Regions from separate parts of the Homo sapiens genome. Here regions 2 and 3 are each linked to region 1. The links are contacts of gene promoters, found by promoter capture Hi-C in human tissues and cell types (Jung and others, 2019). All regions are on one chromosome and are shown on one strand. Each heading gives the region's core, a stretch centred on a gene start or on the middle of the fragment in contact. The rest is flanking DNA. Distances are from core to core; before and after follow the strand shown.

The links. Contacts are between HindIII fragments. The study calls those that stand out against the background at their distance.
Region 2: the fragment with the promoter of TMEM106C here is called in contact with the fragment with the promoter of COL2A1 in region 1 in 1 of the 25 tissues and cell types used here (pancreas).
Region 3: a fragment that was not itself captured here is called in contact with the fragment with the promoter of COL2A1 in region 1 in 1 of the 25 tissues and cell types used here (pancreas).

What each region holds. Positions count from the first base shown.
Region 1 is chr12:48,002,488-48,006,465 of GRCh38, forward strand. COL2A1 (collagen type II alpha 1 chain) reads right to left here and starts at 1,989. Exons shown (of 54, transcript NM_001844.5): 1 at 1,750-1,989. The coding sequence starts at 1,834. The HindIII fragment of the contact is 28,746 bases long and covers 1-3,978 here.
Region 2 is chr12:47,961,210-47,964,873 of GRCh38, forward strand. It overlaps TMEM106C (transmembrane protein 106C), which reads left to right and starts at 2,387. Exons shown (of 8, transcript NM_001143842.2): 1 at 2,387-2,495; 2 at 3,000-3,214. The coding sequence starts at 3,028. The HindIII fragment of the contact is 8,708 bases long and covers 1-3,664 here.
Region 3 is chr12:48,049,397-48,053,168 of GRCh38, forward strand. The region is part of intron 13 of SENP1 (SUMO specific peptidase 1); the gene reads right to left. Among named protein-coding and RNA genes, the nearest start is that of COL2A1, 47 kb to the left of the region's middle. The HindIII fragment of the contact is 3,952 bases long and covers 1-3,519 here.

The sequences.
Region 1 (3,978 bases), core at 739-3,238:
TCACACTCCCTCTGGGAGGAGGAGCGACTGGAAGGTTTGGGCCGGAGAAGCTGTGGAATCACTCCCTCCCAGGAAAGATGCGGCGATGAGAGAGCTCTACCGCCTAATTAAGCAAGCGACCCTAATACCGGATGGAGAATTTGAGAATTATTTTAAAGCCACCCAGCTAATTCCATTGCGCACTAAGGCAGGGGTCAGTCAAGAAGACAGCTTTGTGGGCGTGTGCTTGTAAATGTAGTACAAAAATATAGTCAGTCTGAGTCCAGGCCACGTATAGTCACGCTGTATTCCTCAAATGCCCAGGAGCGCGCCTCCAGCTTAGCGCACTACCGGGTGACCCGGCCAGAGTCTCCTGCTCCCGGCTCCTCGCAGCTGCGCCGCAGGCTCCAGCCCTGCCCCCGCTGCGCTAATGACCGGAAAGCCCGCCTGAGCCCGCCGCCTTCCACGCTATCCCTGGAAACAGCCTGGTGGCAGGAGAGGGCCCACAGAGCCTCGAAGGCAGAGAACTTTTATTCCCCCCGCCGAAGAGTTTCCCTCTGCGATTGATTTACAATCTGTAACATACAAAGACAGGGCTGGAATCCCAGCCGTCGGAAACGTGCCCAAACACGTGGAAAAAAAAATCCTCTCTACCTAATACACTTTCCAGGCTTCGTTTGTCCTGAATATAATCCCAGACAGTGGACCTTACCAAAGGAGGGGTAGAAAGGTGCAGTCCGAACAGCATTTGGACCCGACTACAAGAGCCATCTCTAACTATACCGGTTGAAATAGTTGTAGCAACCGTAGCAATCGACCAGCCTGCTCCCCTTCCCTGACACACACATACACACACACACACGCACACACACACACACCACGCAGCCTGGCTCGGTGAGTTCCAGAATTTAGAAAAGTAACTCATTGTAGTACCTCGGGGCGGCGGGGAATGGGGTAAGACCGCGGGGAAGGGGGCGCTATTTTCGGGGGCATTTGAAAAGCACGGTCTGGTTGGAATGTTATCGTCTTTCAGATGGCCTCTCCTACTGGAAGTTTCTGTACCCTTTATCAGAAGAGAGGCGCAGGCGGACGGAGGGAAGTCGAGATGAGCGCTAGGGCTGCACCTTGCTCCAGGGCCAGCTGGGAGGGGGAGGGTACCCTAAAGAGGCGCTGAGGTCTCAGAGGGCCTATCGGAAGCCGTTCTTTGTGGCCTGGGATTTCAGCCCACCAGTGTCAGAGTGTTAGTCCCCTTTGTCTAACTCTGCTTTGAGCCCACCAGCCACCAAGCCTTGGACAGGCTGTGAAGTCAACCCTTTGGCGTTTGCTTGCTCCCTCGCTCGCGCTCTCTCTTTCCTACTTCACCTAAGTTCGATGAGTTGAGATCTGTTTTTGCTGAACTCGAAGTGCTTCGAAGAGGCGAGCTGTGTGCATGTGCGCCTAATTATCAAAGCTGGTGGAAAAGAGCCCATTTATATCTGTGCGCAAACTTCTCCGAGCCAACACTTTGCAAGTTCAGTATTCTAGCGCAACGTAGGGACCTGCAAATACTTGCAACTGCGATGGGCACCGAGGACCCTGGGACAGAGTCCTTGATTGGCAGAACTCTTCTTGGTGAACTTCTGCGTGTCCTGTGCCTAAGTCGGCGCGCTACGACCCCGGGAGCCGTTTTAGCCCGGAGCCGCGGGCTCCAGAGCTGGAGCGGGCCGGGGAGAAGGATGCTGAGGGACGCATGGAAAGCAGGCAGGCAGGCAGGGGCGGGGGAAGACTTACGGACATCCTGGCCCTGACACCGAAGGACAGCGGCGACGAGCAGCGTCAGCAGCACCAGCGTCTGGGGAGCCCCGAGGCGAATCATGGCTCACCGCGGGGCCTGGCTGAGCCGGGCCCGGGCGGAGCGCAGCGAAACGGCAGGAGCACGGCGCGGGTCCGGGTCTCTACCGCGCCCTCATGCAGGAGGCCCTTGGAGCAGGAGGGGGAAGCGGGAGACCCGGCAGCCCAGCAGCGCTCTGCGTCTTCTCCCCGCCGCGGCGCCCGTTATATGCGCCCGGCCCCTTTCGAGGCTGGCGAACTCGCCCAAACCGCGGGCCGCCCCCTGCCCCCCGCTGGGCTGTAACCTGAACCGCCCGCCCCCGGAGCCCGCCTGGGCCCTGCCAGTGCCCGCACCTGCCCAAGCCGGACCCCCCTCTCTGGGAGTCACGCTTCCCGCCCTCCACCCCTAGTGCGCCGAGTGGCCTGATCGGGCGGGGCGCAGAGATGGCCCCTGCCCCCCAAACCCGGGGCTGCGGCGCTGCCCCCCTCTGACCACAGGCGGGAAGGGTGGCCTCCGGCCCCTCCCCTCGGAGTTCTGCCGGAGTTGGAGGGGAGGGGGTGTTTGCAGAGGCGCAGGCCGAGAGCCCTAGACCAAGGACGGAAAAGACATGGGAGGGAGGAGGGAAAGCGGTAGAAAGGAGCAGCGGAGGGCGAGGGGGCACCGCGTCAGGCGTTTGGGAGTGGGGACAGGGAGGAGCCCACAGAGATTCAGAGTCCTAAATCTTGGAGACAGGCTAGCTGAGCCAGATCTGAAGGGTTACCCCGACCTATCTTTTAGCCCTTCCCTGCAGTACCTGGTCCCCAGACTCCCACCTGGACGTTCACAGCGACTGCCCTCCACCCCTCCCCCATCCAGCTCTGCGTTGAAGGCTTCCTCTGGAGCACAGGCCGAAGTTGGCCTGAGCCGACAGCCAGGAAAAGAGCTGGTGTGTTACTGCACAGAAGGAGACCTGTGTGAAGGTGTGGGGGGCAGGGGCAGGCCCTGGGAAGGGGACTGAAAGAGCCACAGAGGACGGAGGGAGCCGAGACTAAACGGTGCAAGCTGCCTGCTGTGGGGGGACTGTCTAGCTCCAGGCTCAGACGTGGTGTCTGCTCTTCCTGGCTGGGGTCCGGGAGTCCCCCGGGGAGTGGGCACTGCCGGCCGTCGTAGAGCAGCTTTGGCCAGGGACGGTTGGTCACTGCTGCGGCCCTGGCCAGGGATCGGGGAGGCCGATCCAGCTGGCGAGTTCTGTGAGCCGGGGAGAAGCGCCAGAATTTCCCAGTCGGCCCCCTAGCCCTCCGCTTGCCGCCTCACCTCACCTTCCCCGGTGAGCGCCCTCTCTCACCTTAGCCAAACTGCCTTCTTCCCAGGGCTTAGCTGGTCTCTTCTCTTGGTCTCCGGTGCCTCCTTTCATACCAGGGAGGAAACGTCCCCAAACAGACCTTCCTTTTGAGCGATATGGTCCCCCAAAGAACTATAGGCAAAATGAAACTCAGAATTTGGGGTCTGACTTAACCAGAACTTCTGCCCTCCTGGGCAGTTTTGTTTCTCTGGAGCTTTCCCCCTAGAAGCTGAGAGCACTTGAAAGAAGCTACTTCTGGGCCTTAGGCTTCCACCAGGGGTCCTGGGACCCCATCCCTAGCCTATCATGCTTTGACACTTGTCCTGGTAGAGGCTGGAGTTCCAAGTGCTCTGGTTGGAAAGGGAAAGAACTCATTGTTGAAGGAAATGCTTCTAGGCTTTGTCCAGTCTGGATGGAGATGGGGAAGAATTCAACCAGTTTCCAGCATCTCCCCTACCTTCCACGGGCCTTGTCTGAGTCTCCATGCTCCCATTCAGGGGCTTGCATTAAGCTCTGGGCTCTTCCTCAGGCCCAATCTCTGCTAGAAGAAAGCTGGTCTCTTGCCATCAGTGCCCCATGTCCTCTTTGGGGCTCAGAAGGTCCTATATTCTCTACCTGGAAGATAGAATGACCAAATTCCACACATTTATCAAGACCTCCTAGGTTAAAGCCCCTCTGAGAAGCCTTCTCTGATATCTCTAGAACACAACGTCTCCCTGGCTTTCTGAATCCCCCTGGCATTTATAGCCTAAGCTACATATGTTTTTGTGTAGTTTTAATTTTTTCCCCTTATATCCATTGGTCTTTATCTCATCAATGAGCTTGGAAGATGCTTGGGGACAAGAACTGTGCCTAGCACAATTCTAAC
Region 2 (3,664 bases), core at 1,137-3,636, 41 kb before region 1:
TTTTGTTTCACAGAGGACTGCTTGAGCCCCAGAATTTGAGGCTTCAGTGAGCTGTGATGGCACCACTGTACTTGATCCTGGACGACAGAGCAAAACCCTGTCTCAAAAAAAAAAAAAAAAAGCTTTCTTGGTGAGACAAGGAAATTCCAGAGAGAGTCTTCCCCTATGCTTGGGGTTGAGCGGAGGAACAAGACAAGGTTAGAGGTACCTTGATTCTGAGGCTTGTTTTCTTTTAATTCTCAAAAGCACTCCGTATGCTCAAACACCATATTTTGGGGAATCGTTTTCTGTGACCCAACAGATGAAAAAAAAAAAAACATTTCAAGAAGGAGAAGAGGTGGATCAGAGATGTGAGAGGGGAAGTAGAGGGTCCTTGTTGCCTCTTACTAAAGACTCAGTGGGCTGATTGTGGCCAGTGGTCAGGCAGATGGCTAGACAACAGCAGGTACATTGGCATTCCCCACAGGAGAAAGAGGAAAATACAGAGGTGGCAGAAACCTGAGGGGTCACCAGCCTCAGCCTCACTCTCTATTGCCAAGTGGGCCCCTTATTCATCCCATTTCAGAATATCTCCTCTCCCCTAGCATCATCTTTAATAATTTCACCTGGTTAATGTCTGTACTCAACTCCTGCTGCTGCAGGCTAAGCTCAACCTGGCAGTATGAACAAAGAAACCCACCCATTAAAAAGTACCCTCTAGGCCGGGCACAGTGGCTCACGCCTGTAATCCCAGCACTTTGAGAGGCCAAGGTGGGCAGATCACCTGAGGTCAGGGGTTTGAGGCCAGCCTGGTCAACATGGTGAGACCCGGTCTCCACTAAAAATACAAAAATTAGCCAGGTGTGGAGGTGTGCGCCTGTAATCCCAGCTACTTGTGAGGCTGAGGCAGGAGAATCGCTTGAACCCGGGAGGCGGAGGTTGCAGTGAGCTGAGACTGTGCCACTGTACTCCAGCCTGGTCGACAGAGCAAGACTCCATCTCAAAACAAACGAACAAACAAACAAACGAACGAAAAGTGCTTTCTAACCTCTTACGTACGTGCCTTTTTTGTGGAGGTCTGGGGAAGGGGGGGCCCTACTACCGAATGAATCTACTCCTTGGTGCCTCTTGGCACCTAATTGGCTTGCAAAGCTCAGCTGTGGGGTCCGTTCCTGCGAGAAGCCAGCAGGACTCCCCATGGAAGGTTTCCCCCAGGCTGGGCCCCTCTGACTTGTGAGACTTCCAGCAGCACTTTTATCTACAGTATTGGAGGGGTCTGATGAAGCCTCTGGGTTCCCCTCCTGGACTGAAGACAGGTTCTGATATAATTGCCGGACGGGTTCTCCTTGCCCGTTGCCCAGAGCTGATTCATCAAGACAGGGGAATTGCAATGGAGATTTTAATTCATGCAGAGCCGGCTGAATGAGATACCAGAGTTTTATCACTCAAATAAGTCTCCCCGATAATTCAGAGACTGGGGTTTTTTAAGGATAATTCGGCTGGTAGGTATCAGGCAGTGGGGAGTGCTGATTGGTCAGGTTGGAGATGAAATCATAGGGGGGTCTAAGTGGGTTCTTCTTGCTGTTTTCTGTTCCTGGGTGGGATTGCAGAACTGGCTGAGCCAGATAACTGGTCTAGGTACTGCCAGCTGGTGCCTCAGAATGCAGGGTCTGAAAAATATCCCCAGCACCGATCTTAGATTTTACAATAGTGATGTTATCCCTTGGAGCAATAGGGAAGGTTTGGAATCTTGTGACCTCTGTCTGGATGACTCCTAAACCATAATTTCTAATCTTGTGGCTAATTTGTTAGTCTTACAAAGGCAGTCTGGTCCCCAGGCAAGAAGGGGGTTTGTTTTGGGGAAGGGCTGTTATCTTTGCTTCGAAGTTCAACTATAAACTAAATTCCTCCCAAAGTTAGTTTGGCCTATACCCAGGAATGAACAAGGGCAGTTCGGAGGTTAGAAGCAAGACGGAACTGGGTAAGTCAGATCTCTTTCACTGTCATAATTTTCTCACTTACAATTTTTGCAAAGGCAGTTTATCCGAATGCTCCGCATGTGTGTACCCTCAGCGACTACACAGCTCCTGTACTATAAAGAATATTTCAGAATGGCTTCGGTAGCCGGCAGCACCTTCCTCCTCTCGCAGCAGAGAAGTGTTTTGCTCTGGAAACTTGACTGGAGCCTTTCCCAGCCTATCTAGCGAACAGCAGAGCATCATCCCGACTCCGCGGACTACCGCGGCCCAACAGCAAGGGTCGCGGCTCCCCGGCGCTCTCTGCCGCCCTCTACCGGAACCGAGGGAGCCAGACAGCTGCGATATTGGGAAGGCCTCCGGAGCCGCGAAGAGCGCACGCGCGAGCGCGCGCCCGCGTTCTCCTGGCGGGCTTGGTATTTGGCGCCTGCGCGCTGAGTGCGTGCCGCTCCGCCGACCGAAGAGGCTGGTAAGTCCTCAAGCTGGCAGGTGGTCGGGGGAGCGGCCGGAGAGGAGCTGCCGGGAGTTCGTGCCCTGCAGGTCTGCGACGCTGGCGTTCGCTCCTGCCTGGGCCACTTTGGTGGGCTCAGAGCATCGCTTTTTGCCAAGGGGCGTGACCTGAGCCCGCCTCCTGGGGCTGGGGGGTGGAGAGGAATGGGAATCGTTAAGGCCGGTTATCAATTTGGTGCCTGTTTGTTGCTCGAGGAGGGGCATAGAGCTTACAAATAGTGAAGAGGAAGGGGCGAGGCTGGACCAGGTGGGAGCGGGGGTGCCCCAAGTCCCAGGGCGGTGAGGATCGAGGCAGGTGCGTGAAAGGCAGGCCCCGTTCCCCCTCCCCACCCCCGCCGGCTGTGTGTGGCGGGTAAGAGGAGAGTGGGTAGCACTACTACAAAATGAGGGTCCCGATAGAAATCGTACAGGTGTTGGGACCACACTCAGGGCGGCAACTTGTCATTTTTGCGTTTTTAATTTTCTTATAGAAACAAGCGATTTCTGTCGTGATTCACTGGGGCCGCTAACGTGCACTCCCTCTTTTCATCTTAGGACATGACACCAGTGGCATATCACGGCCATGGGGTCTCAGCATTCCGCTGCTGCTCGCCCCTCCTCCTGCAGGCGAAAGCAAGAAGATGACAGGGACGGTTTGCTGGCTGAACGAGAGCAGGAAGAAGCCATTGCTCAGTTCCCATATGTGGAATTCACCGGGAGAGATAGCATCACCTGTCTCACGTGCCAGGGGACAGGCTACATTCCAACAGGTGATCATGGAGGGATGATTCCCTGATGAGAATCCCAAGGTACCCTCGGAGTTCTCCTGTCTGCCCAGACAACTTTTCTTCTAGGCAGTAATACCATAATAGAGACAGTGCCCTGGACAGGAGCCAGCTCAACTGACTTAATACACTTGGGCAGTTCTGCAACTTCTCTTCCTCTCCTTATTTTTCCAACCCTTTCTTTTCTTTACCGCCACTCTTGTTCTTTTCCTGAGGTTTGGAACATTCAGTTCGCTCTGTGTTGTGGGATTTGTTGACAGGCACATTTCTTTATCGCTGTCACAAGGATTGGGACAGCTTTGCGGGGGAACCATCTTGGAAGCTGCTTTTCAAGGAAATGGGTAGCTAATCCTTAACAGCCTAAGGTCAGAAAAATATATCAGGTCAAGAGAGAGAGACAAATACTTAGCCTTGGTACAGGATCATCTATTACTA
Region 3 (3,772 bases), core at 294-2,793, 46 kb after region 1:
AAGACTGAAGGTTAGGTCAAAAGACTGCAGGAAGACAGGGGTGTTAAGGTGAGGCTTACAGAAAAGGAGAGGAAGGCATGCAAGCAGTTTAATAATGCACATTAGCAGTTACCTTTATCTACTGGAACTGTGTGAGCAATTTAAGTAGATACTGAGCTCAGTTAGCGCCTAGTGTTAGTCAAGTTAAAATCAAGAACTCAAATTTTATATGACAGCCACATGGTTTTACACAAAGATGGAAAACTCTGCTCCATGGTTAAAGACTGCCTTTTCAACTTAATAACCCATCCTGCAGAGGCAAACTCTTTTGGTCTCAAGTAGAACTAAGTGACAGGAGAAGCCATTAATTATACTGGAAAAACACCTGTAAACTGATAGTAGCTCAGCAATGTCACCTTTATATAAAGGCACACATGGAAGTATAAAAACCTACCTTATATGAGACCTAAAGTCAAGTCACAAACATGAAGAATAACGTTCTACCCCAGAATCTATATGGTTAGCTTTCTCATCTTTGTTGATTCCATTTATGCCTTCAATATTAAGTGTGGAAAGAAATTACAATGGCTGAGTGGGGAGATGTGTGATTCTTTGTTAATGAAACGACATCTTCTCTAATAGTGACTATGTTGTGTATGGTTCCATTAGGTCCAGGACTCTTTGGTACTAAAACTTGAAAGTTATCGTGCCGGAAGTTACTGCATACTTACTTTATGTGGCCAGCTGAGGTCAGGCCAGTGTCTGTCAACTGCAAGGAATGAATGGGCTAACTGATCCACGGCTTGGAAATATGACTAAGAAAACAGGCACATTTTTCAGAATGCTTTTTGGGGAATGGGAAAATGCCCCTGTTCTTTGACAAATATTTACACACCAGGATGCCAGAACAGTGAGCTACTGCCCAACAGTAAGCAACGACATACTGGGTAGGCAGCAGGGGAACACTGCCAGGAACACACCGGAGCACGGTCTAGACCAGAGAAAGGGCCTATAGATGAGGATGCCTAGGCAGCTGCGGGAAAACCACACTCGCCATGAGGCAGAGCTCTGAGGTAGGGGAAGGCTAGGACTGAAGAAAGACACTGTTTTCTCTGCAGCTGATGACTGAGCAACAGGCCCAGTCAGCCCAAAGGACTCAGGTTGTGGCTTATTCTCTGCCTAGTGTGATGCCCAATAGATAACTGGAGATCAGTTGTTACAGATAATAATTAATCAAGACACAATTAGAATCAGGTATTTCTTAACTATAAGTTTTCAGTCTAACTCTGCCCCTCAGGATAATGGTGCTAAAGACTGCCTCTAGGTTTCCGAAGGCAGCCATAAATGCAGTAGGATCTTCCCAGCAAGTACAGATTTCTAGGCTGTAAACTATGTTCTCTAATGAGGAAAAATTGGCAAGAAGGAATTCACTGATTCCTCTGGCCTTCTACCCATCTTATAATGTTGGCCATGTTATAGGGTAAACCCTTCAATCCAAGACATAAGCAGATGATCTGCCAGTTACTGTAAGCGAAACCTTCCATAGGGGCAGACAGCTTATATATTCCAACAAGAAATAAGGACTGAAGCAGGAGGTGAAAGGAATCAGGCAGAGAGATAAGGACGGTGAAGCACATGACAGCCATGGAAATACATCTCCCCTAGGTGCCTATCAGAGATTACCTCTGGAATCGTAAGTCTGAAGTGAAAAAAAAAAAAAAGAATGACATAAATGAGTGTCATGCTATACATCACTATTCTATTTTTCAAGAGGAAAGAGTTCCAGAAACCAAGGAAGCTTAGCTGGACTTACACAGCCTGAGTTTTGCTTGTTTTTTCACCTTCAGAGGGTTCACTAGAAAGCTAAAGACCAACACAGCTGAACAAGAACAGAGAACCCCAGTCATCAGACACCATGGTATCTGTTCCCTTTGAGAATTCCTCTTCCATTGCTGCACCCAACCAAAGTTTCTCAACTGAGAGGAAAATGGCCTCCAAAGTCAACTAGTTAATTAGCTCTAAGGAATGATCTGGGTTCTTTTTCATTTCCCCTAGATCCCAGTAGAAGGGAGTTTGGTGACCTCAATGCTCCCCACATTAGCTGAGAATGTAAATCTGACATCCAAGGCAGAATCTGGATTCAAGTCTTTCTCCTCAATTTTTTTAGCTATTACACCATCCAAATGAGGAAAATTGCCATAGTTCAGCCAAGACACAATTAAACCAAAAAAATGAGCTAAGAGAGAACAAAAAAGTCCTACATGTCATCTCACAGAGGAGGGCTGAAGATGAAGGAAAAAGAAATGAGAGAAGGGATCACAGTGTTCAAGATGAAAGAGGAGCAGTGATGGTCACAGCATTTGCTTGACTTTTGTGAAGACAACTGTCCCCGACGCCAAGTTGGCAACAGCCCTTTCCTCAAACAAGACTCTCTTAGCACCAGCAGATCCTAAATTCCCTTTGAAATGAGCTAAAAGTAGATGAGTCCTGTGCTTGCTATTTGTCTCACCAATATACCACAATCTGAGGACTAACTGTCAACATTAGTCCACCTGTCACCTTTTCTGGGACCCACACTTGCCTCTATTTGCTCACTGTGGCTCTTGGTGCTTAAGGAGCTACCCTTCCTGCTGCCTTTGCAGCCTTGGCCATAAGCATCTACTTGTCTATGCAGTCATGTTTAGGGATGGGTGGGTTGTTTATAGTGCCTTGTTCCTTTGAGATTTTATTTGAAGAGCTGCCAGGCTGAAGCTGAAAAAAGCTTTTCTTTCAGAGAAAAGCCTACAATGTTTTCAAACTAAGGATTCAATCTTTTTCCTGTACATTACCACAATGACATAAACGACCAATGCTATTTGTATCTTCCTTCTTCCCCAGTAAACCAGCCAAACTATTGTTTTCTCATGTTTTTAGAAATAAAACATTTCACTACCAGTAAAGTCTTGATTTTTAGCCATTCTCATGCTTATAGTTTGAACTCTTCTAATTAGCTTGAGAAAAAATGTTCTAAAAGGCCTGGGCATGACAATACTTCTGAGCAGAGATCAAGACAACTTTTGGGGGGACAAAAGCCATTTTTCCAATTTTACCTCTCTAGATTTTCACCTTGACCTCCCCATTCTGATTTTCAAATTAAATTTACCCTTATCAACCACAAAGTCCAAGAGACTAACAGCAGCATTTGAATAGTATGGTTCAGGTCATTCACTCACAGGAGCTAACCTAGTAATATTATAGAAACCAGGAAGGCAGGTTTCCCTCACTGCAAACATGCACACAGAATTTTTCTTACATGCCAATTCAAGGAACAAATTATCAGAATTAAAGCTAAACTTTTAGAGAAAGACAGGCAAGCAACATGTTTATGGAGTCATTTATGGAGAATAACTACTATTCTCCATGTGACCTTGCATAAATCCCTGGTTAATCAGGGCTAGTTCTATTTAGAAACACTTCAAAGAGATAAACCATAATAATGTGGAAGCCAAAGAGTCACGTTAGAAAACTTTAGTTCTGATCGTTTTATTCTACACGTAAGTGTACAGCAATGGTGGATTCATCATAGTCACTTAACTAATTTATTTCATTTTGCCTAGTTTTTTTCCTTCTTATGCAATCAGCTTTTATTCTCTAAGGAAAACCTATTCCTAAGGCTAGGTTTGTCTGGTTGAACTTAATGTTTTGCAGGTTGTTTCCTCTCTTTACTGAGCATCACTCAGATTTAACTACTCCTTGGAAAAATTATCAAACTATGACCACTACCAATTCCCCCCGTTCCCATCAAAAATATATA